Linked DNA regions of Homo sapiens: regions 1, 2, 3, 4 and 6 are each linked to region 5. The links are contacts of gene promoters, found by promoter capture Hi-C in blood cells and fetal thymus (Javierre and others, 2016). All regions are on one chromosome and are shown on one strand. The core of a region is centred on a gene start or on the middle of the fragment in contact, and the rest is flanking DNA. Distances in the headings are between cores, read along the strand shown. Region 1 overlaps ARLNC1 (androgen receptor regulated long noncoding RNA 1). Region 2 overlaps ARLNC1 (androgen receptor regulated long noncoding RNA 1). Region 3 has its middle 3.3 kb from the start of CDYL2. Region 4 holds the start of ATMIN (ATM interactor). Region 5 holds the start of DYNLRB2 (dynein light chain roadblock-type 2). Region 6 overlaps ARLNC1 (androgen receptor regulated long noncoding RNA 1).

Region 1 (3,716 bases), core at 405-2,904, 310 kb after region 5:
CTTCTTAGTGGTTGTGTAACTAACATTCCTTTCTTCTAAAACAGTCCTAATAGAAATATAATACATACCACAAATGTGATTTTTAAATTTCAGTAGCCAAGATAAAAAAAGAAGTAAAAAGAAACAGGAGAAATTAAACTTAATAATATAGTTTACTCAACCCAGTGTATCTGAAATGTTATCTTTTAGTATATAATCAATATGAAATAATTTTTTCCAGCCTCTATATTCAAGATCATCGATATGAAATTTTTTCATATACATTTTTTTCATACTAAGCCTTTGAAGTCTGATGTGTATTTTATGTTTCTAGCATATCTCAATTTGGACTACCTACATTTCAAGTGCTCAGAAACCACATGTGGCTACCATATTAGGCAGCACAGTTATAAAAAATCGGTGTATTCCTACAGAGTTGTGTTGAACAGTTGCTCCCAGTCAAACTTACTGCCATGGTTATTGTTTCAAATGTACGTGTCTTCATGTTAACTCTGCCACAGAGGTTTGGGTAAAGTTTTCCCATTTATTAATAATAATTTCCTGAGAGCCTTATATGGTAGATGTTTTAAATAAGTTATTTCATCTAAACCTAACTTAAAAGTAGATATAATTATTCTCATTTACAGATGGTAAAATGGAGACATACAGAGGCAAAAACTTGCCTCATGTCAGGCAGCTAGAAAATATCTAGCTTAAAAGCTTGTATTCTTTCCTCCACAGCAGGGTTCAGCAATTGTTTTCTGTAAAGGGCCAGCTAGCCCCTAGTCTAGCCTTTATGGGCCACTCATTCATTGTGACAACCTCTCAACTCTGCTGTTGTGGTGAGAAAGCAGCCATAGGCAATATGTGAATAGATGGGTGTAGTTGTGTTCCAATAAAACTTTATCTACAAAAGCTGGCAGCAGGCTGGATTCAGGCCTTGGGCTATTGTTTGTCAACCCTGATCTACAGCATATCTTTATTTAACTCTAGCATTTCTCAAGACACTTTGAAAGTGATTATTCTGGACAACCCAACAGTCATCATTGTATGCATAAATCTCAGAATGAGATGACAAAGGCTTAAATTTTGAGACAGCTCAGATAAATAAAAAAACTCACTGAAGTCCATTCTTTTAAATAGTATCTTACCTAATCCTTGAGGGATGTGGTGTCTTCCTATCCTCAGACCTCACCAGCAGGTGTTAGATTCTCATACCTTCACCCTGTGGTCTAAACTGAGTGTTCAGTTTGTACCTATTCTATCATACATGTTCAGCGCATCCTCAATCTGAGTGTTCTGGCCTCTCAGTTATCCAAAGGTACAACTACCCAGAAGAAGTGAAGGTCCTCCTCTGAGAGTCAAACTGTAAATCAAGATACAGGAACTGGAGCAACGATCTATGAATTCATCTTAAAGACCCAAAATGACTCACAGGCCCTAACATTAAAATATGCCCGACTTGTTGGCAGGATGGATGGATGATTGAAAGATGATAAATCAATTATGACAGATTGTTGGTAGATAGATGGTTGATAGATGATTGATAATCAATAGATGATAGATCAATTGATGATAGATATATCGTTGGTAGATAGTGCATAGATGATAGACACAAAGATTAGATTAGATTAGATAGATGAAAGAGAGAGAATACTTAACACTAAACACGAGTGCTCAGCAACAGAGAGAAGAGAGTCACGGGGCAGTATTGGAGCTTTCCATCTCAGTGTCATCTAAGGAGCAGGCTGCCCTTTCAACTATCACAAAAATCTCTGCTTTGAGGCTAGACACAGCAGACCTAAGCAGTAAACTTCCAGTCATACAACCAGCTTCACTTTATTCTCATTCCCAGTCATCTTCTGATTATGCTTTGGTTTCCCATGAAGTTTTTTTGAACAAAAGAATGTCCTAATCAAGCCTTGGCAGCTGCCTTATCTCCCCAACATGTTTCTTATTATAAACCAATAAACGAGTATCTGTTCGACGCTTTGGTCTCCGACAGCCTTGTTCATATGGCCTGTGATCCTAGGTCAAGCTATCTCCGGTACAAACTCTCACTTCTTAGTCTGCAAAGATGAAGGAGAGATCCAATGGGGACTTGAAGAAATTTACCAACGTCAATGAAGAACACTTCAGTGGCCTAGCTGTTTATTTCTAGCAGGAGAGTTTTTTGGTTTCTGTACACTTTCCTTGATCCGAGAACAACTTTAGAAGCAAGAGAAAAACAAAACAAAAACCCTGTTTCTTTTCCAAGTCCCCATTTTTCTCTGCCTCTGTTCTTGGAAGACTCTAGCAAAACACTTTTCTAGAGTAGTCCTAAAAATGGGTCCACCTGCCCCCTGGTGGCAGACATAAATGGATCCCCATAGACTTACAAACCCTCCTTCCTGAACTTTCCCTGCCAGGGGAATTGTTTTCTACCCTCCTCAGCACTGGGGGGCTCATTTACTTGAATAAGATGAGCACTGGTTCCCCCAAAGATGGCCTTGGGCTTCCTGACCTGACTTAGAGGGCCTGGCTTATCTGAGATCTGCACTGAGAGCAACCATGGGCCTTACGAAGAACCAGGAAAGTGAGAGGCTGGAATGCCTTGCGAAAAGAATGAAAGGATTTGGAGTCCACTGAGAAAAGCTTCTGGAAGACACTTCTCAAATTTACCAGAAAAAAAAACATGGTCTCAGGGCAAGAATTTGGAGAAGAATGATAATCAGCATAGACCGCGTTACAATGGTGTAATGACTCAATGGGACCTTTACCAGTCCTACAATATGCGTTATCTTTATACTTCCTTATCTGTGCTGATTACCTCCCATTCATCCCTGTGGGTCCAGCTTCTGTGCCTTTCCCTGTCCCATGAGGCTGACCAGTATGGATTACATCAGTGGGCTCTCTTGCCCTCTTGCTTCTTGTTGGGTACAGCCAATGAAAGTGACCAGCAGAAATCAGAGGGTAGGAGGAGAATGAATCCGGGCAGTTGTCATTTGGGCTGTCCCCCTGTGGAAGGCAGCCCTGTATATACAGCCACCCTCTCTGTGTTCCTACAATGGCTTCCTCACCTCACCCATTCAGGCCTGGGATGGTAATGCTCCACGTTGCCACCATCCCCACTTTGGTTCCCTTAAACTCTTCCCATACCTCTATAGGTAGTCACTTTATTGATCTCTCCTCAAATTATCCAGATCACATGTGCCATCTCTTTCCCACCAGGACCCTGACCATATGCCTCTCTGCCGGAATGTCCCTCTCTGGTCACCCGTCCCTCATTAACTCTGATACTTAAAGGAGGAGCATAAATATTACCTCCTCTGTATGCAAGTATGGTAAGGAAGAGTGTTTACTGCTTCCTACAGATGGGGGACTATGCCCAGTCTCTGCCCTGAGACCAGGGACAAGTTCTATTCTCTGAAAATGGGGGTAAGGGCACTCACCGGCAGGCTGTCTAGAGGAACATGCGTTCTGTAAATATTGTTCCCATCCCCATGACATTGGCAACGATCACGCATTTCTTTGCTCCCACAGCATTTTTAACAGCTTAATTGAGGTGTCATTCATATACCATGCAGTTCACTCATTTAAAGTGCATAACTTAATGGCTTTTAGAATATTCAGAGTTGAGCATCTATCACCACAATCAATTTAAGAACATTTCATTACTCCAAAAAGAAATCCTACTTCCCTTAGCTGTCACCCTCCCATTCTTTCTCCCTCACTTTACTGTCAGCCCTAAGCAGCCA
Region 2 (3,333 bases), core at 200-2,699, 290 kb after region 5:
TCAGCCTCCTTCCCTCTTCCCCAGCAACTATCCCAAAGCTGTTACATCGTGTGGCAAACGTTTACTGAGGCTTTTAGGGATAATATAAGTGGTTTCTTTACAACCATTCCTTCACAGCCAGAACGCACGTAATTTAAAACTGTGTCATTTTCACACACGTCCCATAATGTCTCCTTCATGGGGAGCTTCTCATGGCCTTGGTCTCTCCCCAGAGGCTGCCTATGGCCATATTTCTGGGATCCAATTCTCACACACTGGGCCCCTCATTCTTGGGCTTCCCACATTCAGTTACCTCATTCTTGGGCTGCCCACAAACAGTCAAAATCCTTATTTTCTAAGCTGAAGCAGTTGAGCTCTCTCACTTACCCTTACAAATCTAGGTTTTGCCTAGAAGTAGTCAAAAAAGCAAGACAGAGACATCTTCATCAACCACAAAGTCTCATCAAAGTATTTTACTCCATCAAAGAGCCATTCACTTCTGATAGCCATGCTCTTCCTCTCTTAAAAGGCAGATTCTCTTTGTTTTTTTTTTTTTAACTAAATACAACGTTTTCTTCCTACCACACTGCCTCATGATCCTATTAAAAGATATCAAGATGAGGACCAGCCATGAATTCACTTCCCTCCGCAGTCCACTAACATGTTGCTTTAGTGAAAATAAACAAAACAAAAATTTAGAAATTAAACTAGGGCATTTGGATTCTTAGAAGGGATAAAACTGCATGGTAGTAGCATACGGTGATGTCCTAGATTCAATTCTATGACTATTCAGTGGCTGGAGTGGATCCTCATGGCCTACACAAATTCTTTAAGATCCCTGGGCTAGTTAGCACCCATGCAGTGGTCAGCTACATTCCCAAAGCACTGCCCATCTCCCACCATTGTTACAAGCCCCAACTCCATGCCTAGAAATTAGGCAAGTCCAGTACCCCACCATACAAGCCAAGGAAGCTTCAGGTATTACAACCTGGATCATAGCCACGGTCTTGGCTTCTCTCACTTTTCCCCTGGTTTTGGTCCTCACTTCCAGTTCTCCAAAATCTACCTGTGTCCTGACTCTGGCTGTGATTCTACTCTAAGTGCCATACACATCCCTTTCACCACTGACAGATTTTGCTTCCCTGGTTGTGACATTCAGCATTCTCTACTGCAGGGCTTCTCAACCTTGGCACTATTGGCATTTGGGTCTGGGTAATGCTTTGCTGTGGCAACTGTCCTGTGCATTGTAAGATGTTAAGCAGCATCCCTGACCTCTGTCTACTAGATGCCAGTAACACCCCATCATTGTCAAATGTCTCCTGGGGCACAATGTGGCACCTGGTTGATAAACACTGATCTACTCAACTTGCACTTGTCATTTTGCGGCTATGAAAACCACCTCTCAACAGTAAAGGTCTCCAAAGGAAACCAGTGTGGATGAGGTGTTCGCTTCATCTGAGCTCTCCTGTGAACCTGGTAAAGTTCTAACTGTCCAAGAAGTGCTCCATCAAGACTTGCCTGAAGAATTCTAAGCAGTTCAAATCTAAAAATTGACCTCGTCTGGCTGGCCAAAGCCAAAACATATGATTGAACATTCATCTATCCAATTTTTAATATGCGAGCAAGACTTGGTGATTGAATTAACTTTTTCTTCTTTTACTCATATTTGGGGGCTTATACTCAACCCAACCACTGGGAAGCCAGTAGTACCCAGAGGACACAGTTGAAATGAGGCACAATTAGGAAAAACTAGGCTGTTTAATATCCATATTGAGTAGCTTTGCAAGTTACTTTCACAAACTTCCCTACAGAATTGGTTCTAACAGAACTGTTCAAGGCCAAGGATTTGTTTTTTCTGGGTCTGGGGGAGTCATCTTTATAATTTTAATATTCCATTAGAATGCCTTGACGCTAGAAGGAGGGTCCATCTCAATCACATCAATAAATTGATCCCAACCTTTATAAAAATAAGCTTGGATAGAAAGGAAAATCCGAAGACTAAGGTAGTCTGGTAGAATACTAGAAGGAGACATCTTTTAAGAGGAGGACAAGAAAAGGCATGAAAACAGAGAACATGGTCCTACACAAGGCAACTGGCTTCAGTGCTACCCTACAATTCTTATTTCCACTCAACGTCTGTTCTAAGGTGGCCACATTTACAAATGTTTACAACCCCACAGTGAGAAAACAAGGTGTATTAGTCCGTTTCATGCTGCTGATAAAGACATACCTGAGACTGGGAAGAAAACGAGGTTTAACTGGACTTACAGTTCCACATAGCTGGGGAGGCCTCAGAATCATGGCGGGAGGCGAAAATGGCAGCAGCAAGAGAAAATGAGGAAGAAGCAAAAGCGGAAACCCCTGATAAACCCATCAGATCTTGTGAGGCTTATTAATTATAAGGAGAATAGTAGGGGAAAGACCAGCCCCCATGATTCAATTACCTCCCCCTGAGTCCCTCCTACAACACGTGGGAATTCTGGAAGATGCAATTCAAGTTGAGAGTTGGATGGGGACACAGCCAAACCATATCACAAGGGAAAGAAGACAAGAAGCTATCCTGTCTCCAACAACCAATATGTTGTGTTTACATAGCTTTGAGTTTTTCAGATGCCCCAAGATTCTAGAAGGAAGAGAGCTCAGAAAGGAATTACAAGGGGTTTGTAGAGGAAACCTCTGGTTGGTGTTATAAAAATTATTTTGTCTCCACAAATTAGAAAACTGCAAGGTTCTCATGCCCATACCTTCTTGAAATTCAAATGCACTTTTCATTCCTGAGGTGGAGAATTTGGGGTTTCTTGAGGAAAATTATTTTTTAATGAAAGCATGAGAAATTAACAGTTTTCAAACAAATTTATTACATATCTAAAGTTCCTTCCAACTCCCACCCCAGTTTTTTCATATAATTTCTGCTTTTATTTTAGATTCGGGGGTACACGTGCGGGTTTGTTATGTGAGTATGTTGCATGATGCTGACGTTTGGGTTAAGAAACATCCTGTCACCGGGGTAGTGAGCAGAGTACACAACAGTTCATTTTTCAACCCTTGCCCCCTCCTTCTTTCTCCCTCTAGGAGTCCTCAGTGTCTATTGTTATCATTGAAGATGGAGTATTTGTAAAGAATATGGAGTTTAGTTAGGAACTATGAGGTTGGTGCAAAACTAGTTGCAGTTTTTGTCTCTTTTTTTTTTTTCTTTTTTTTGTTTTTTTGAGACAGAGTCTTGCTCTGTCGCCAGGCTGGAATGCAGTGGCATGATCTCAGCTCACTGCAACCTCTGCCTCCCTGGTAAAATCAATTCTCCTGCCCAGCCTCCTGAGAAGCTGGGATTACACGCACGCACCACCACAGCAGCTA
Region 3 (3,292 bases), core at 14-2,513, 270 kb after region 5:
AATAATAAGCAGTTCTCTATCTGTAGGTAGCTAAACAAATTTTAATGAGTCTTAATTTGTACTCACGAATAAATGCACCACCATAGCATGAGGATGTAATTTGGAAGAAGACAAGAAGGAAACTGGGCTTGGAAATAATATACTAAGCCAAATTTGAATATATAATCAGTAGTTTTACAAAAACACCAAAAGCTTGACTTGTACTGGCCAAGTACTCCCTGAGAATGTGAGTGCAGTTTGAAAAACCCTAGTCTAGACAACAGTTGTTTACAGAGTTCACAGAAGAGGATACTTAGTGTGGATGACCATGCTCAGGAAATGTTTTAGGACTGAAATGGATCTTGAAGACTCATAGAAAAGGAAGGACAGTGTTTTCCGTGAGGAGAAGAAGTCAGAGTAGATGGTAAGCAATTCTGCTATGGGAAGGGTATGAGAAGATTGGAGGACTGGTTTATGGAGGTCACAGGACCCTGGATGGTGAATGTGGGTCAGTTCGGAGATAGTCTTGAAAGCCAAGCTAAGAAGTTTGCTATTTAGTAGGTCAACAGTGGAGAAACTGATGAAGACTTTTGAATCAATCAAAAGCATGTGACTATCAAAAGTGCACTGTAGAAAACAAATTCTAGAAGAAATATGGGAAATCAACTGCAGGGTTTGAGGTTAGGGGCAGGGAGACCAATTGCAATGGTCCCTGGTGTTAGCAGTGGAAATGAAGAAGAAAAATGGGATTTGCGAGATGTTCAGAAGGAAGAACCAGGCTAACTTTCATTATGGTTACTCCACCTACTTCCATGAAGCATTCGATTCAGATCAACAGGACTTGATGACTAACAGGATGTGTGTGCATTGAGGACTTGGGGAGGGGCCGCGACTAAGGAAAGGATACAGAGATGACTAAGGTTTTAAACTGAGTGACTGAGCTACCCATCCGTCATAACACAATTTTATTTTGAGCTTACCCCCAGACCATGGCTAGCTTCCAGAAAAGGCAGGTGCTTCCTGAGGGATGAAGGGGGGAAGGGTCTTCACCCACTGTAGGAAGTTCAGCCCAACCAATTAACAGTGAGGCTCTAGGTTCTCCAGATGATAGAGAACTAGTGTTGCTCATGGAGAATGGAAGATAGCTGCCATCTTCCACAAACTGTGGTAGACTATTCATATTGGTCGTAACTCAAGATGAACTGATAGAAAGCTCTAACTTAAAACAACAGAGTATTTCCTGACTCATATAGACTAGAAAAGGATGGAATTGCTCTCAGGATTGGCCGGATTCAAGGTATGAAAGGATACAAAATAGCCTCTCTTACTCTCTCCTTCTTTCTGCATGCTGGTATCTTTCCTGCTGAAGACAGGCTTCTTCCATGCAGCTGAGAATATGGCACCTGGCCACTCACCTGGGCTTATGCCTTATACAGTATTTCTAAATCCCAGGGAAGGACTCTATTGGGCCAATGTAGCTCATATGCTGTCTTACTGGTCCAATCACCATAGTCAATAACTGATAGGACACTATGATTGGCCAGGCTTAAGTCATACTCCTATCTATGGGAACAATATGACAATTGGCAGTTTTACCAGAATTACATGATGGGAATCGGGTCTGAGCAGAAGCCTAAAGGAATGGTGGAAGGAATACTGAAACGGTAGGTGTTTACGCCAAAACAAATCTGAGACAGAAAGGGAACTTAGAAGCAAGGGCAGTAGCTGCCTGGAACACGGCCTTTTTAATATAATAGAGCAAGACCAGCAAGTGTAATGTCCAAGGAAAGATCGTATCCACTGCCTTAACAGTGGCATTGAAATGTGGCAATATTCTCCTTCCGGTATTACTTGAGACATAATCTTGACCTCCTGTATCCTGTGGTGGCTGAACATGTGGGCTCCAGAGGCAGATGGCCTGGGTTCCAATTCTTGCATCATCACTACTAGATATCTGGTGTCAGCCTCTTTGTTTAACCTCTCTACCCTTCCATTTCCAAATGTATGTGTTATTTATTACTGCATGATGAATTATCCCCAAAACTTAATGGTTTTAAACAAAAGGTTTTTCTAATTTCACAGTTTGTGTGGGTTGTGGATTTGACAGCAACTTAACTGGGGGTGGTTCTGGCTCAGGATCTCTTGTGAGATTGCAGTCAAAATGCTTGCTAGGACTGCATTGACCTGAAGGGTTGGCTGGGCTGGAGAATCCACCTCCAAGATGGCACCCTCATATGGCTGTTGGCAGGAGGCCTAAGCTCCTAGCCACATGGGTCTCTCCATAAAGTTGCTTGAGTGTTCTCATGTCATTCTGATCTTGGCCCCCCAAATCCAACAAAATGAAGCAAAACTGTCAAAGCTTCAACTCTTTCTAGCACAGAGCAGCTAACGAATCTGATGTTATAGTCCATGCTAAGAAGACTATTTGATGCACAGATGATTTACGACATGTCAGGTTGGATAACTGGAGATGTTATCTGATCCACACACCTCACTTTGAAGATGGAAAAACCAAGACCCACATTGGGTGATCCGAGAGAGAGAGCAAGGAGGAAGTCACAATGCCTTTGAATATCTCATCTTAGACACCAAACATAGTCACTTATTCTATTCTTTAGAACTGAACCACTAAGCCAAGCTCATACTCAAAAGGAAGCAAATTAGAATCCACCTTTTAAAGGGAGGACTATCAAAGAATTTATGGACATGGTTTAAAACCACCACACCCTATCTATAAATTGAGGTGATAGATACCCCATAGAGTTGTTTTGAGAATTAAATAAGCTAATCCATGCAAAGCATCTATAATAAGGGCTGAGTAATAGTCCCTGTTGTAATGACAACTATTACCCATTTCAAACTTAATATGAGTCACTAATATCCTTGAATGTCAAAGATTCCTATAGAAAGGCAGTAAGTCAAATAAAACCTTCAAACTGAGTATTGTTTTCAAGCTATGCAGAAATTCTTGTTACTAATTAGGCTTTATTTTCAGCATTCATTTGGTATATTTTACTTCCATAATAATGTTTATTATTATTAAAGTCATACTTATTTAGTATCTACAGTGTGCTAGATATTATTCTTGTTGAACAAAATAGTGTCCTACCCTTATGGAGCTTATTCTTGTTGAACAAAACAGTGTCCTTATGGAGCTTACAGTACAGAGGAGACAGAATAAACCAAGAAAATAAAACACATATATACATAATTTTATTTCAGGTAGTGATGTGAAGTAGGAAGAAAAGTGAAGCAGGTAAAGCGACAGGAACTGAGATGGAGGGTGCCGGGGACAGGAAGGGGTGCTGGCTTA
Region 4 (3,418 bases), core at 830-3,329, 490 kb after region 5:
TATTTTTAGTAGAGACAGAGTTTCACCATGTTGGCCAGGATGGTCTCGATCTCTTGACCTCGTGATCCGCCCTGCCTCGGCCACCCAAAGTGCTGGGATTACAGGCGTGAGCCACCATGCCTGGCCCTTTCACCTCTTCTTGGTTGACATAAGCAATCAGTTCTACAGCAGATACCAGCTGGGTATGCTCCAGTTCAATTCCAACACTAACTACCTGGCGATATCATCAGACCCCATAGGTTAAGGGCTCAGTCCCACAAAACTGCCACCCACTTCTGAGGCCAGTTGCCAGCCCCAGGTTGTTTCACCTGCGCTTCTGACTAACCAGCTATAAATTGCATTTCCCACAACCCTCTCTTCATGTTCAATTAATTTGCTAGGGCAGCTCACAGAACTCAGGAAGACACATAGACTGACTTCTTACAAGGGATGTTACAAAGGATTCAGATGAAAAGATGCATAGGGCAAGAGCTTCCACGCATGCCCTCTTTGAGTGCGCCTCCCTCCAGGAAACTCCATGCATTCAGCTATCTGGAAGTTCTCCAAACCCATTTCTTTTGGGATTTTATGGAGGCTTCATTACCTAGGAATGATTGATCAGCTTAAGCTTCAGCCCCTGTCTCCTCCCCAGAGGTTGAGGGGGAGGGCTGAAAGTCTCAAGCCTCTAATCCTACCTTGGTCTTTCCAGTGACCAGTCCCATCCTAAAGCTACCTAGGGACTGTGAGTCATCAGTCAACTAATTAGCATACAAAAAAACACCAATTTGCTGATTCCAAGGATTTTAGGAATTGCATGCCAGGACAAAGACCAAATATATACTTCACATTATCACAGTTATCTTGCAAGGCAAAGGGACTTGGCAGTTGGAGAAATTATCCTGGATGATTTGAATGGGCCCAATGTCATCACAGGGGGCCTCAAGAATAGAAGAATCAGAGGGATCACTACTGAAGAAATCAGAGTGATGTGATGTGACGAAGACTCAACTCACCGTTACTGATTCTGGAGATGGAGGAAGGGTCCGCAAGCCAAGGAATGTAGGCAACCTCTAGAAGCTGGGAAAGGCAAGTGAACAGATTCTCCCCTGGAGCCTTGGGAAGGAATACAGCCCTGCTGACACCTTGATCTTAGCCCAGCAGTCTCATTTCTTTTGACCTCCAGAGCTGGAAGATAATAAATTTGTGTTAAGGCAGTAAGTTTGTGGTAATTTATTAATAGCAAGAGAAAACGAATATAGCTGCTAGTATGTAAAAGGTGGAAATTTTCACATAAAACTCTAGCCATACCAAAGATGAGTAGCAGCTGCCCCCTTTTAATAAAGGATGTGTTTCCAATTTCACTGCAGTCCTCACCCCTCCCTTTTGTCTACCCCAGCCTCCTATGTCCATTTACATGAACTACCCAGTCTAAGTATTAAGTTTTGTAATCGTATACTGAACTGCAGTGTCTCCCAAACAGTAATCCTAATTTCAGCAGCTAAAATAGAAGCAAGCAAATCCAGCCTTCTTAAAATGATTAATCCTATCAATAATAACAATCTTTTCATTTGTATAGTGTGGTCTAGGTCAAGTTACTTAATTTATATAAGCCTAAATGTCCTTCTCTGCACAAGGTGGGGCAAGTTACAGTACATACCCGCTACAGTCGTTTTGAAGACAAAATGAGACACAGCATGAAAAGTGCATCCACCAGACCCACCTGGTACCCAGTAAGGCCTAGGTAATAAACAACGGCGGAAATCAGTGTACTTCTGCCTCACCTGCCACTAGACATTTGGGTTGTTTCTAATCTTTGGGAAGTAAACGCATTGCTCAACGTATTGCTTTTTCTTTTATGTGACTACTGCCTGAAGTCACTTTCCTAGGAAGAATGGATCGATTAGAGAGGCGGGGCAATACCTTTTACCTGCTGGCAGGTGAAATTTCGCCTCCTGGCGGCGTCACCTAAAGTCCTCTCCCTCCAAGGCGCGCCCTCCGCGGCCGGCAGGGGGCGCCGCGGCCGCCTGGGCCCGCCGGATGCTAACAAGCCTGGCGGCCTCGCCCCCTGCCGGAAGTGGCTGCGGCGGGGGCGGGGCCTACGAACTGGGCCGGGCGGCCGTGCGGGAGCCATGGCGGCCTCGGAGGCGGCGGCGGCGGCGGGGTCCGCGGCTCTGGCGGCGGGTGCCCGGGCCGTCCCGGCGGCCACGACAGGAGCCGCCGCCGCCGCCTCGGGCCCGTGGGTGCCCCCGGGACCCCGACTGAGGGGCAGCCGGCCGCGGCCCGCGGGGGCGACGCAGCAGCCCGCTGTCCCCGCGCCGCCGGCGGGGGAGCTGATCCAGCCGTCGGTGAGCGAGCTGTCCCGGGCCGTGCGGACCAACATCCTGTGCACCGTGCGCGGCTGCGGCAAGATCCTGCCCAACAGCCCCGCGCTCAACATGCACCTAGTCAAGAGCCACCGCCTGCAGGTGAGCCCGACGCGGCCGGCGGCCCGGGGGGCCGGGCCTGGCTCCAACAAAGCGCCCGGCGCCGGCGCGCGAAGCCGGCCTCGGGGGGACGAGCGCCCTGCGCGCTGCCGCTGCCGCTGCCCCACCGGCCTCTGCCCTCCCCGGCCGGAGGCGGCTCTCGAACCCTCGCGGCAGGCGCCGCAGGTGCGGCCTCTGGGGGGGAGGAGGAGCTGGGAGCCCCGGGTCCGCCGTACGCGCCAGTTCCCTGGTTCCCTGGCTCCCTGGCCCCGAGTGTCGTGCCGGACGCCGGCCCAGGCTTTTTACACTTTTTTGCCTGTGAGTTCTTAACGGCGTTTTGGCGAGGGACGCATCGTCTCCATTATATTAATGAGAAACAGATTATGCAACCTAGATGATGCGGGGCTTTAAACCGGGGCCTCTGGTTCTAAAGCCCTGTGCTTGCCACGACACCCACAATGCCGCCCTTGGGTCCTGCCCAGTGGACTGTATGTGCCACAATAACTAGAAGAGAGGGTTTTAAATGTTCTCACCACCAAGAGACAATACGTTTGAGGTCGAGGACATGTTAAACACTCTGACTTGATCACTATGCAATGTATATGTCCATCCATGCTGCACACCGCACCCCATCAGTAGGAATAATTACTGTGTGTCGATTATGAATAAAAAAATGTTTTAAAGGAGCGGTAGGTTTGCCTCTAAACACCATCAGTCAGTTTCACGGTGTTGGTAAGATCAGCTCAGGACTGAGACCTAAGGGAAATTGCCCCTGTGGCTCTTCTTTAAGAGGGGGACACAGTAAATACACCATGACAATAGTCTCAACAACCCTCCACGTTATGCAAAACAGGGCAGTCATTTTCAACCTTGGGACACATCTGTGACAAGCTTATTAAAAATCCAGATGTCCAGCCCCACCCCGGACCTGTTAAGTCACAATCTCTCAGTCATTACAATGGCAAGTTTCCTTCCAC
Region 5 (3,285 bases), core at 592-3,091:
CAAGGAAATTCACACTCCATGCATATGCAGTTGGTTCCTTCATTAAAGCTGATTGACATATCAGACATGGTGCACTGTCACTGATTTTTGTAAGAAAAACAAACGGCTACACAATCAAGTGGAATCTCCTTGATCAGAAACACCCAGAGAACCCAAGAATCACTCTTCATTCAACTCAGCCAGTATTTCTGTAAAGACCTATTATTTGTATTACTGCAAAATGGTAGCTATAGTCAATCAGGTAAGAGCCAGATCTGTACACACATGCATGCATACACACACAAGCACACAAATGCACACGCACACGCACACACCAGACTCAGACTCCTTCCCCACAGCTATAGCAGTCCTTTCCAAAGCAACTTTGTTGGAGTACCAGGTGTTGAGAGTCAAGCGGGATTCTTTGGCTAGTAATAGTGAACTGGCTGAGATATACAGATTTCTTGGAGGGAAAAAAAGGAGAGAACTACAGTGATCAGAATCACCCACACCTCAACAAAAATTAGAGCAGAACTACAGTTTCTCAGAGTATTTCTGTAGTTAATATAATAAAATGACAGATGTGGAGTTGAAATGGATCATCGAGTCCAAGCCTGCCAATGAGTTCAAAACTGTCCCAGAGCACCCCTAACATGGACCATTCAGAATCCAGTTGACATTCCTAGCACGATGTATGCCTTGTTCAGTGTGAGACTACTTTCTGGAAATGGATGCACAAACAGAATCGGTATTACAGGAAGTTGTTATGGCATGATCCCTATGAAGATGCATTCCCAACTTACAGCTTGTATTTTGTAATCAATATTTGTCCTCCTCTAACCTCAGGAAGTCATAACACGACTCCAGCCATAAAATTTTCCTGCTGTGCTTCGTCGTACAATAGTGGCTCTTTTCCTCCTAGGCTATAAGGATATTATCAATGTCCCTCAAAAGGTCAAGTGACTTCTGATCATTCCTAACTGATCTTTAACGTGTTTCCTCCAACAGTTCCTTAAACACCCAATGGAATGCTCTTCTATGGCAACGTATAGAACCTCCGGAACTACCATTTGCAATTTTTTAGTAACTCAGAACTGTTGATTTTTAAAATGGCAAAAATACAGATCCTAATGGATACTGACAACTAACAGAAATACTGACAAGTAGCAACTCTTCAATGGAGTTGAGAACAGGAAGAGGGTGCTATAACTAGGTGAGAACATAAAATGTGCAACTGTGCTTACTCTACTGATCTTAGAGTAGACAGATAGAAAGTAATTTTTTTAAGTACATAAGGTTGTACTATTTGATGCTCTGATATATTTTTCTTCAATATAAAAACTACTGGGAGGCGAGCGAACAGTATCTGCCCTGAACAGGGCAGTACTAATGGACGGTCACAGGCAGCTAAGACTATCACCAAACCCCTAGAGCAGCCCAACCCCGAAGTCAGATGGTCCTGTCCCCTCCTTACTTGCTCCAGGGCAAGTATCACACGTGGACATTACTGCTTCCGGTACTGTTTCGTGCATTTTGTTTGGTGCATTTTGTCCGTCTCCCTGGCACCTGGTGGGTGGTGAATCAGCAGTTTTTGAACGAATAAGTGGTTATCACATTAATTCGTGCCTCAATGAATGAATGAATGGACAAACACAGGCCGGGAGCCTGACCCACTTCCCTCTTCCCTCCCGGGACCCACTGCTCCAGGATTGGGCGAACCTCAGGTGAGCGCCTGCTCCCCTCTTCCGCGAACCTTCGCCTACGGCGGCCGGGAGGCATCAGGAGCGCGGTCAGGGCGAAAAAGCCGACTCGCGAGCGCGCAGGCGCAGCCCTGACGCTTCCGTGGGGCCACTTCCTTTTTTGTCTCCTAGCAACGGCGGGTAGCGTTGTTGACATCCCGGGAGGCTGTGCCGCCGGCCTGAGCCCAGAGTTTCGCGGCCTCCGCGATGGTAAATCTGGGGTCTCCGTCCACGCCCCGCCGTTCCAAGCACGCCGACCGTCAAGGACCTTCGCACCCAGCTTCTGGGGCCCACCCAGGCACGGGCGGTCCAGGGGCCGCGGCGGAGGCTGGTGGCTCCAGGATCTTCCTGGAGGGGCGAGAGGGAGACCTTGGAAAGGGGCAAGAAGATGTCTAGATGACTGGAAGCTGTTTTGGGAATTGATTTCGCGGGGATGGTACATAAGGAGGGGTGATGTTGAGAAAGGGAAGAGAGAGATTCAGAGGATGAAGAATGCTCAGGGGAGTGAGAAATCCGGGGAGCCAGGAAAGTTTCCAAAGAGGGGGCGGGAGGCCGAGATGGAGAGGAAAAAAAATCAGACCCTTAGAGAGAAGGAAGAGGTGGGACAGGGAAAGCAAGGGAATGGAAGGGTGAGAAGGGAAGATACTGAGAAAGAAGAAAGGGAAATAAAGAAAAAGGAAAGAAGTGATGGGAGACCCGCCCCCCTCCCCCCCAGAAAAAGAGGTAAGAAAAAAAAAAGTAGAGACTGTGGAAAGCAAAGGGCGTTAAGAGAAGAATGAAACGGGGATTGGAGATGGGGATTAAGAAATTATACTAGGAGCACTTACAAATCATGAGAAGAGAAACAACTGGGTGGAGAAATGGAAAGGCCAGGGAAAGAAAAGAAAGGAGTTTGGGAGATAAGTAAAGGGAGAAAGATAAATAAGGACACAGTGGCTGTAAGAAGCTGTGGACATCGTCTTAAAGATTGCCCAAAATGCAGTGAATTATTGATCCCCTGTTCAACGCTTACGGTTTAGTGTAGTGTTTCTCAAAGTCAGATGCAAACATTCGTTGCTACATAAGATGGCCGAGAAATGCTAAATAAGAGTGAATCACATCGTGAGAAAGTTATTCCTCTTCCATTTTGTTCAACCTTCAGACTACATACAGGAGAAAATTTCTGTTGCTATTAGGTCCTTAATACCACTGTCATTTGGAAATTTCCATTTTTTCATCCGAAGAGCAGGCCTCAGGCTCAGAGCTTTCATTGCAGTAGAATTTAATGATAGGCTCTCTCTTCATTTTGTTCATTTTGTTTGTTTTACAGTTATTTCTATTTATGAGGAATAACGTCAGGTTTCCATTTGTGGTAGTGACATACGATTTCCTCTTAAAATGCATTTATTTAAGCTTTTAGCAGTGAGATAATTTAAAGAACACCTAGATAAATAGTATACATGGCATTCATAATGGCAAGAATCATGAATCTAGTACACAAATGCCTAAAGTCAAGAAAACCTTGGCTCTGATGCTGAAATAGAGAAAATAAGTGCTCCTGCCCATACCAAGTACAAAGGAAAACTAT
Region 6 (3,538 bases), core at 287-2,786, 330 kb after region 5:
CCTATCACTTTTGCACCAAGTTGAAAAATTGTAGTGAAACAATTGTAAATTGGGGACATCTGTAGATGGAAAAATAGGCACATGAAAAAGAAGCTCAACATAATTGGTGACTAGGGAAATTAAGGCCACAATGAGATGCCACTACACTCCTATCAGAATGACAATAAAAAAAAATCTATCAATACTAAGTGATGGTAAGGGCATGGAGCAAATGGAATTCTATGCAGAGCTCGTGGAAATGCAAAGTGCTACAGCCACTTTGGAAAACAGTTTCTTCTAAAGCTACTCATGCAATTACCATACGAACCAATAATCCCAATCTTAGATATTTACTCAAAAGAAATAAAACATATGTCCGCTGAAAGACCTGAACATGAATATTTATAGCAGCCTATTCATAATCACTCAAACCAGGAAAAAGCCCAAATACTAATCAACTGGTGAACACAAATTATGGTATAGCCTTATAATGAAATACTACATGGAAATAAAAAGGAAGGAATTACTAAGTACACGCAACAGTATTAATAAACCAAGTGTATTGTGCTGAGTGAAAAAAAAAAGGCCACGCACAAACATTTCATACTCCAATTCCATTTACATGATTATCTAGAAAATGCAAAACTATAGAGTCATCAACCAGATGAAGTTGTCAGGGGTTGGGGCAGAGATAGGGAATTGACTATAAAGGAGGTGACAGAACTTTTTGGGGTGATGAAAATATTCTGTATTATGGTTATAGTGGTGTTTACAATACTATAAATGTCAAAAATCACTTACCTATATGTGTAAATGAGCTGAATTTTACTGCATGTAAACTGGCCTTCAATAATCCTTACTTCAGAAAAATAATAAAGGGAAGAAGAAAATATTAAAGACATGTTGGCTAAACATTTTCTAAGCTTTAAAGAAAGTCATGAATCTTCATTTTGAATATTTGGTCTGAGACAAGAATAGAATAAACAAAAACAAATATACATTAAATACATTGTGGTGAAACTATAGAAGGCAAAAGGCAGCAAGATCATCTTCAAAGTCATGGCAGCAGCAGAGAGAGGGTACAGAAGACGAGGGCCAACAAGATTACCTGTAAATGAACAACAACAGAAGCCAGAAGATAAGAAGATATGTCTTCAAAGTTTTGTGAAAAAAATAATCTTAAATCAGCCAGGCATGGTGGCGTGTGCCTGTAATCCCAGCTACTTGGGAGGCTGAGGCATGAGAATTACATGAACCCGGGAGGCAGAGGTTGCAGTGAGCCGAGATCATGCCGCTGCACTCCAGCCCGAGAGTGAGAGTCTGTCTCAAAAAAGAAAAAGATTAAAAAAAAAAAAACCCATAAATCTAGAACCTTCTATTCATTCAAATTAAGAGAGGGGAAGGATAATTTGGGAAAAATAAAGACTGAAAAAAAAATAGCACGAGCAAATACTCATGGAAAGAATTACTGAAGGCTACAGTACTTTTAGGAAATCAAATTCAGAAGGAAGCACATACAAGGAATAATAGTAAGTAGACAAGCTGGTAAACATATCAATAAAAATGATAATGTTAATAACAGCTGTTGAGGGAATAAATACAAAATGGTGGTATACTAGTTAGTAATAAAAAGGAACAAACTATTGATATACTCAACAACTTGGATGGATGTCAAGGGCATTATGCTGTGGGAAGAGAGTCAATCTCAGATGGCCACATACTGCATGATCCCATTTGTGTGACATTCATGAAATGACCCAGTGATTGAAATGGAGAATAGATAAGTTGCCAGGGGTCATGGATGATGAAACTGGGTGGGGGGTACAGGAATCTCTCTGTACTATCTTTACAACTTCCTGTGAGTCTACAATTTTAAAATAAAAGACTGAAAAAAAAGAGATTAAAGCTGAATTTGCTGGTATGAAAAAATAAACAATAACAAGATGTAATCACTAGATAACAAAAACATCCACGATGTTGGGGAGACCAGAGTTAAACCATTTTAAGGACATCATATAGTTGGAAAGAGAATAAAGGTATTAATTTGAAGTCTTCAGTCAAATATGTGCATTAAAAATTTAAGGAAGACTAAAAGAATAGAAAAAGAATACATACTTTCTAAATCAGTGGGGGAGAAGGAAAATAATAAGGAAAACTTTATTAATTGAATAGAAGTTATGAAAGAAAAATAAAAGCTTGCTAAAACATACACATTCAAAAAATCAGTAACATTCCTTTAATATTAGTATAACAAATTTTACATTTAGAAAAGTAATTCAATTCATAAATATAACAAAGGAATTGCAGTATCTATAAAATATCTAAATGAAAACTATGTGTGACATATAAAAAAACTACAAATATTTATTAAACATGTTCTGTTTACAGATATCTAGCCTTGAGAGATAAAGAAAGGATAACAAGTTCCAAATGTATTCATGAACAGCGTGTGCTTGATAAGAAAGCAAAAGTAACCACGTCGTGCTGGTCTGCAAGTGGGAGCTGGAAGAATGTTATAGCTCCTAACATGGGAAACGTTGACTAGCTGAGTGAAAGAAAGGATATCAGTCAATAAGTGCTCCACGTATGCACATGCCAGGAATAAAGTCTGTGCAATTTAATCCCTGTTTCTGATGGAATGAGCTGGGCAAGGGCTGGTGAGTTGAGGGCTCCTACTTCTTTCTGGAGTAGGGATGCAGCTCAAACAAGGTCTGGAGCCTGATTTAGGAGGGAAGGCTGGAGTGCTCAACCTTGCCTTCCTCTGCAACAAGCCTGGTGGTGGTACCCAGAGGTCAAGCCTAGTATAAATCACCACTGCTGCCGGCCGCATCTTGTGCCAATGAGAACATCCAAATCAGGGAGGGTCTTGCTGTAGGGTCACCAGAGAGAGGAAAGGTTTATACTGCCTCTATCTTCTTTATTCACTGCCCCCAGTAAGAGTCTCATCCCGTTTGAGACAGGAGTGGGAGCATCCAGTTCAACGGTTGCATCCAGATGGATTTGGAGTGATCAGAATCTTTCTCCCCACTCAGGTCTTAATTGCTCTAGTTAATTAAGACTGCAACCTCATGTGGGTAAAACTACAAATGCTCATTGAGAAAATGTGCGATAGAAGTTGAATAAATCAAACTATGCTCCTGAAGAGGGAGTTATCAATCTTCCCCAATCAATCCATAGGTTTGGTTTAATGTGATTGAAATCAAGATCCCAATAGGATGAGTTTTGAACTTCACAAAATTGTGAGAATAACTAGCATGCTTAAAGCTTACTCTGTGCCAATTATTAATATATGAGCTGTACGTATTTTAACTATTGATTCTCACTACAACCCCCTAAAGATACTTTCTTTGTACAGATGAGGACACTGAGGCATATACAAAGGTCAAGCAATCTGCCCAGGTGTTTCAGGGCTGGAAGGCATCAACTGAGGATTTAAAATCAGTAAATCCGGCTCCAGAGTCTATGATCTGAACTCCTCTACAACTTGTATTTTAAAATGAAACTGGAAAAATAAATACGACTATCAAAGAATAACACTAATGGAAGCAAACCAGCCCTA

The links. The method cuts DNA at HindIII sites, captures the fragments that hold promoters and counts their contacts. A CHiCAGO score of 5 or more calls a contact.
Region 1: a fragment that was not itself captured here is called in contact with the fragment with the promoter of DYNLRB2 in region 5 in 6 of 17 cell types (endothelial precursors, megakaryocytes, M2 macrophages and 3 more); the score reaches 12.5 in endothelial precursors.
Region 2: a contact is called between a fragment that was not itself captured here and the fragment with the promoter of DYNLRB2 in region 5, in 7 of 17 cell types (endothelial precursors, M2 macrophages, megakaryocytes and 4 more). The highest score is 16.3, in endothelial precursors.
Region 3: a contact is called between a fragment that was not itself captured here and the fragment with the promoter of DYNLRB2 in region 5, in 15 of 17 cell types (M2 macrophages, M1 macrophages, megakaryocytes and 12 more). The highest score is 14.4, in M2 macrophages.
Region 4: the fragment with the promoter of ATMIN here is called in contact with the fragment with the promoter of DYNLRB2 in region 5 in 2 of 17 cell types (monocytes and naive CD4 T cells); the score reaches 5.8 in monocytes.
Region 6: a contact is called between a fragment that was not itself captured here and the fragment with the promoter of DYNLRB2 in region 5, in 1 of 17 cell types (endothelial precursors). The highest score is 5.9, in endothelial precursors.

The regions. Positions count from the first base shown.
Region 1 is chr16:80,850,120-80,853,835 of GRCh38, forward strand. The region is part of intron 1 of ARLNC1 (androgen receptor regulated long noncoding RNA 1); the gene reads right to left. Among named protein-coding and RNA genes, the nearest start is that of ARLNC1, 41 kb to the right of the region's middle. The HindIII fragment of the contact is 1,914 bases long and covers 698-2,611 here.
Region 2 is chr16:80,833,448-80,836,780 of GRCh38, forward strand. All of the region lies in intron 2 of ARLNC1 (androgen receptor regulated long noncoding RNA 1), which reads right to left. Among named protein-coding and RNA genes, the nearest start is that of CDYL2, 31 kb to the left of the region's middle. The HindIII fragment of the contact is 1,000 bases long and covers 950-1,949 here.
Region 3 is chr16:80,806,219-80,809,510 of GRCh38, forward strand. No RefSeq gene overlaps it. Among named protein-coding and RNA genes, the nearest start is that of CDYL2, 3.3 kb to the left of the region's middle. The HindIII fragment of the contact is 2,146 bases long and covers 191-2,336 here.
Region 4 is chr16:81,033,763-81,037,180 of GRCh38, forward strand. ATMIN (ATM interactor) reads left to right here and starts at 2,080. Exons shown (of 4, transcript NM_015251.3): 1 at 2,080-2,444. The coding sequence starts at 2,109. CENPN-AS1 (CENPN antisense RNA 1) reads right to left here. Exons shown (of 4, transcript XR_007065134.1): 1 at 2,975-3,418; 2 at 993-1,164. RefSeq lists silencers at 1,900-2,189, 2,400-2,749. The HindIII fragment of the contact is 2,725 bases long and covers 606-3,330 here.
Region 5 is chr16:80,539,152-80,542,436 of GRCh38, forward strand. DYNLRB2 (dynein light chain roadblock-type 2) reads left to right here and starts at 1,842. Exons shown (of 4, transcript NM_130897.3): 1 at 1,842-1,928. The coding sequence starts at 1,926. The region is part of intron 1 of DYNLRB2-AS1 (DYNLRB2 antisense RNA 1); the gene reads right to left. RefSeq lists an enhancer at 1,893-1,982. The HindIII fragment of the contact is 6,420 bases long and covers 1-3,108 here.
Region 6 is chr16:80,873,347-80,876,884 of GRCh38, forward strand. All of the region lies in intron 1 of ARLNC1 (androgen receptor regulated long noncoding RNA 1), which reads right to left. Among named protein-coding and RNA genes, the nearest start is that of ARLNC1, 17 kb to the right of the region's middle. The HindIII fragment of the contact is 1,272 bases long and covers 901-2,172 here.